Regions from separate parts of the Homo sapiens genome. Here region 1 is linked to region 2. The links are contacts of gene promoters, found by promoter capture Hi-C in human tissues and cell types (Jung and others, 2019). All regions are on one chromosome and are shown on one strand. Each heading gives the region's core, a stretch centred on a gene start or on the middle of the fragment in contact. The rest is flanking DNA. Distances are from core to core; before and after follow the strand shown.

Region 1 (3,037 bases), core at 500-2,999, 120 kb before region 2:
GGGATTGAAACTGCCTTTGCAAAATTATGACTGAGACAGTAAAAGAGATCTAACCTAACAGGCTCTATCTTGTTCTCCAAGCTGTCCTTGTTCATTCCTGGGCGTATGCTGAACTAACTTTGGGGGGAACTTAGTTTATAGTTTAAAACAAAGATGGTAACAGTTCTTTCCCAAAACAAATCTCTTTCTTGCCTGGGGACTAGACTGCTTTTGCGGGACTAACAAATTAGCCACAAGATTAGAAATTATGGTTTAGGAGTAATGCAGCTGGAGGCTACAAGATTCTGACCCTCCCTGAACTGCTTGCTAGATCAGTGCTTGAGATATTTTGCAGACCTTGCACTTGATGGATTAGCTGGCACCACCCAGATGGGTTAACTGGCTCCTCTGATCTTGTGGCCCCCACCCAGGAACAGACTCAACACAAGAGGACAGCTTCAATTCCCTGTGATTTCATCTCCTACCTAACTAATTAACACCGCTGGCTCACTGGCTTCCCCTTCCCCACCAAGTTGTCCTTAAAATCTCTGATTCCTGAATGCTTGGGGAGACTGATTTGAGTAATAATAAAACTCTGGTCTCCCACAAAAATAAAATAAAATAAAATGTAAATTCAAACTTGTCTCATCTCTGCTTAAAACTCTCCAGTGGACTCCTATCATACACTGTCCAAACTCATTTCATGCCTATAATGTTCTCTTTGAACGAATCCCTGGAAAGGTCTCTAAATCTGCTCCTAGAACTCTCCATTTCACTCATTCAACTTTAGACACACTACCCGGCTCTTCCAAAAATCACCAAGCTTTTTCCCACCTGCTGCCTACCCTCTGCCAGTACTGATCTGTTTTAGGTAGCTGAAAGATTCACATTACATCACTGAGGTCTCTAAGGCTCATTTGCATTTCCTTAGATGAGTCTTCCTCATCCACCTTACTCAAAAAGGGAAGCCTCATCTCATCCTCCACTCATGCTGCTCCAAGGCATCATTCTCCATTCCTTTCTCTGCTTAATTATTTTTCCTGAACTTCCACTGCTTGACATTAAATAAAATATTTATTATTTTCTGACTCTACCACTAGAATGTAACTGCAAGAAGCGAGGAACTTTTTCTGTCTTTTCACCACTGAATCCCAAGCATCCCTTGCAGATTTGAACTATTGGCTCTCTAATAGTTAAGCTATTAACTATACTACCCAGTGTTCTTTTCTTTGTATAGTTCTGGATTAGAGTTGAACAGAAAAGGAACTTGTGCAAGATTTGGGATAGGAAAGTGAAGCAGTGGGCATTACTCTCTAAACCTACATCAGACACAGAGAGTGACTGAAACAGAGCGCCCAGCAAACTCTAGCTTGTTTTTACTCTCTTCTGCTTTGTGTCTAATTCTTATTCTCATCTATTAGTCCTGTTTGAATAACAGCAGCCTTGGACCCACTACCAGACTCTTAGCAGTGGGCCTACAGCAGATAGATCTTACAGGGTCAAAAGCTTCTAACTGACTTTTCTACAAACTTTCATTTGCAGTCCCACTTCAGCAACCAAATGTGCTTGGGTTCTCAGCATTCTCATGCCAAAGGTGACAGTGCTTTGGGAAGACTGACTGGTGATCTTTTCTCAAACTTTCTCCTTTTTCCATCTGTATTTCCTCAGCTCCTCCCACAATTGTATAAGGTCTAATTCCTATAACACATCCATTGTTCCACTGTACTGAATTCAAGTACCAGATATATAGAATGAACTCAGCAGGTATTTACTAAATTAATAAATATAAAACAGTCCGTACAGATCTTAACACATACAGAGCACTCAACAAACAAATAATTTAAATAACCATGATTAATAAATATAAATAAAATTAATAAAAGATAAAGCTCTCAGAGCTGATCATGTAAAAGGTGCAGCATTTGGAAACTAGCCATATGAAAAAGTAAATGATGGAACTGAAAAAAACAAAAAGAACTGTTCTCATTTACCTTTTAAGTTGTGTAGTAACTGACAGAGAATTTACATTAAAAAAAACTTCAGTGTGAGGGCCAGGCAGCTTGGCTCATGCCTATAATCCCAGAACTTTTGGAAGCTGAGGCAGGCAGATCACTTGAGGCTAGGAGTTTGAGATCAGCCTGGACAACACGTGAAAACACTATCTCTTCTGAAAATACAAAAATTAGCTGGGCATGATGGCACGTGCCTGTAATCCCAGCTACTCAGGATGCTGAGGCATAAGAATCACTTGAACCCAGAAGGTGGATGTTGCAGTGAGCTGAGATCACACCACTACACTCCAGCCTGGGCTACAGAGAGACACTCTGTCTCAAACAAAACAAAACAAAACAAAAAACATTTCAGTGTGGGTGATGTCCATGTCTGCTTCATCTATTTGAAAAGTTATCATTTGAAATTGGTAATTGATTTTTGTATTGATGTATTATGTGAAGGACAGACTAGGGATTGAAATTAGGAGAAGACAAATCAAATATGAAAACAAACCTTGTAAACAACAAAAATATGATTTGTCTTATAACACAAGCATGTGCTCTCCCTTTTATTATATTTAAAATATGCTAATAAATGGTCTTCAGTGATAAACAGACTCCTGTACTAGGCTGGAGCTTAGATAGGATAATCATAAAATTGTAATCAAGTTATTTGATTCTATAAATTTAAAAATAGTTTCTATGTGCATCATAACACCATATTAGGTGTTAAAACTTACTATTTAAAAGTTTATGGTAATAATTTCCAGACAAATGCAATAAATACATAAATGGATCAATCCAATTAAGTTTATATTATAGTTTAGTATTATACATGCTCTCTAGCAAAGCTATAGCAAAGAATTGACAAGAGTGAATTTGTAGTCACAGCAGAATTCTCCAAAGGGAAATAAATTTTCCAGTGATACATTTTGTGAAACCAATTTTTTAAAAGAAGTGCTAAAATCCCTTCACTGCAAACAACTCTATAATCCCCAATAATAAGCTATATGTCAAGACTATATATTTGTTCTAATTCATGCTGAAAATATCATACTTTATAATAA
Region 2 (2,774 bases), core at 187-2,686:
GGCGAGGCACGCGACAATCAGTCCTTGGCGACACTGCCGCCAGCCCCTCCTGCCACCGTCTCAAAGACTACACGCAAGGATCATAAAGCCAAGAAGATGTGAGAAGAGAGGGTGGCTGGGGGCGCATCCGGCACCCCCGTCACCATCGCACTAAGCTGCGGCGAACTCAGCCGGCTCACGTTGCAAAACCACCTGTTCGATCCGAAGGGAGCTCCCCCTACCCCCCAGCCCAGTTCTTTTCATCTCACAGGTGACAGCTTCTCTGCTCCCCCAAAGATAAATTTTTAAATGGAGCAAATGTACATCCGGGAAAAAAAATATGGAAGATAAGAGTCAATTAAACTCCCTTTCCCCACACACTTAGAATCCCCCTGCAGTTCCCAGCACACACTCACACTCAGGTCAACTCGAGACCCCCACGCATCCAGCCACATTCCACGAATCACTGCAAAACAACAGCACAAGTCAGTCGAGGTTCGAGCATCCACATCCTTTCAGAAAACTGAGCAAGTGTGAGGGAAGGGTAGCGGGAAGGGGCAATGAACTGAAGCCACCTCCAACAAGACACACAGAGACCGGAGAGGGGGAAAGCGAAGGGGAAACATTTGAGAACTGAAACGGTAAAAGTAACCACGAGCTGCACCAACACTTTCTTACCGATGTGAATGATCGAATCCGCATTCGCCGAGTCCCAGGTTCGAGACCACCAGACGGACAAAACCAAGAGAAAGGGGAAAACTTCCATCTCCTCCTATGCCGATTCTCTTGGAGGATGGATTTTCTTCCAATTTTTTTTTTTTCAAACAGTCCAAAGAGTTTGAGGTCACGGTGGAGTTTAGCGCAGCTTTTTCTTTTTTTCTAAATTCCTATTGCCAGAGCAAAGCCTTTTATCGTCGCCGAGAAAGGCAGAAGGGAATGACAGAAAGAGCCCAGCCTGAGGAAACCTCCTTCGCAAAGCCGTGTCACTTGGAGGGGAATTTTGGCATCGCCAGAGTTGTTTGCAGTTTGGCTTTTGAAAAATATATCCAGCCTCTACTGCTCTTGGGCAGGGGGAGAGGCTGGGGCTCAGATCAGACCCATCGCTGCGCGGGGGCCGCGGGTCTCCGGTCCCAGCTCCGCTGCAACTTCCAACACCCCCCTCACGCCGGATGTGCCCCCTTCCCCGCACCCTCTCGGACCAAAAAAGACCCCCGCCCCCGCCCCTACAGCCCGCAGAGAATCACTGGTCTTCGCTGCCAGAATCTAAGTGGAAAGGAAAGATTAGGAGATTCCAAACGGAGCAGCCAGATTCCACCAGGGAGGGGGGAAAAAAGCCCTCTCCAAGAGGGGTAGAAAAAGTGAACTTCAAGGTAATGCAGATAGTAATGCAGAGAAAATTCCCTTTCTGCGTGAGGCGCGGAACGCAGCTTGGCGAGGCGGGCCCGGGGAGCCGGTTTGCTGGGGCGCGGTGGCGGGGGGGTTGCGCCGGGCGCGAGCAGCGGGGCCGGGCCAGAGGAGGGAAGCCGCCGCAGGCTGCAGGATGCTTTTGGAGCGTTTCGCCTGGCGGGATGCAGGAAGCAAGGAGCGAGCCTGGCAGCTTCAGCACCAGCCCCACGTTGCCTAGAAATGGATCACCTAGGAGAAGGAGCGAGCCTGCGAGAGAGCGGTGCTGTCAGGCGGAGAGAGGGGGAAACCAAGAGAGGAAGAGCTTCTCTCTAATAACCACCTCCTCCCCCTATCTGCAATACAAGGGAGAAACAAAATAGTGCTCTCATTTCCCATGGAATCTTCAACCGGGACTGAGAAAAAGGCAGGACTGTAAAAAGACATTGAAGCTTTTTTTTTCCTTTCTTTATTTTACGAGGTTAAATGCAACCTAAAAAAGCCACCCCACTTATTTAACCTTGCTATTCTCTAACAGGTATCAGACTTTTTCTAGTCTTTGCCTGGAATTAGTCACATTGGTTGAAAACAAATTAGGGACACCTGGTCACTTAGGGAAATACAGACCTAGAAAGCTTTTAATGAGATTTCAATTATAAAGTTATAAAAAGGAGAGAACGTGCTAATTACCTTTTATACAATGATTTTTTTTTTCTGTCTCCAGTGTATTTTTTAGGCAATCAGGATAGAGAAAGGTTCCTGAAATCCTTTCTATTGATAGAAATTCTTCTCTATCAGGATAGAAAAGATCTTGAAATTAAAATAAAAAAGCAGAATAATTAAATAAAACAGAAAAATTTTTCATAAACATTTGGTCAAAATATTTCATTGAGTAGCTTAATAACCTATGTAGATAAATTCCGAATGAGGAAGTTGGGTACTCTCTTCCATGGAAAAAGCTGAGGAAGTCCTGAATGACAGCCTCTCAGTCTCCAGTGAAAGGATTTTCTGCAAGCTTATTCCTTAAGATAAAATCCTGATCATTGTGACTTCTTTTCTTATAATGATTGACTTATGTCAATCTGGCCTCATTGCAAACTGAAGATTTGTTAACACAATCGAGTGACTAGTCGAGGTCAGGTATTAATGTCATAATATTGTCTCAGTTATAATTGGAATTCTTTAGGAATGTTGGATGTGTGGATGTCAAGCTCATTACACAACCTTTCAAAGCCTTACCTCCAAGTTTGGCAAACCTCTTTTCCTCCCGTTCCCTCACTTGAGCCCTTCTCTCTAGCCTTCTGAATTGGGTTACTATTTTTCCAGACACAGTTGTACATTCTCACTTCTGGCTGTTTTCATTCATCTTGTACACTTTTTCCTGAACATTCCAGAAAATGTTTTGCTGCCAT

The links. The method cuts DNA at HindIII sites, captures the fragments that hold promoters and counts their contacts. A contact is called where the count stands out against the background at its distance.
Region 1: a contact is called between a fragment that was not itself captured here and the fragment with the promoter of GRID2 in region 2, in 2 of the 25 tissues and cell types used here (H1 embryonic stem cells and adrenal gland).

Annotation. Positions count from the first base shown.
Region 1 is chr4:92,419,976-92,423,012 of GRCh38, reverse strand. The region is part of intron 1 of GRID2 (glutamate ionotropic receptor delta type subunit 2); the gene reads right to left. Among named protein-coding and RNA genes, the nearest start is that of GRID2, 120 kb to the right of the region's middle. The HindIII fragment of the contact is 4,438 bases long and covers 1-3,037 here.
Region 2 is chr4:92,302,628-92,305,401 of GRCh38, reverse strand. It overlaps GRID2 (glutamate ionotropic receptor delta type subunit 2), which reads right to left and starts at 1,436. Exons shown (of 16, transcript NM_001510.4): 1 at 658-1,436. The coding sequence starts at 745. The HindIII fragment of the contact is 11,112 bases long and covers 1-2,187 here.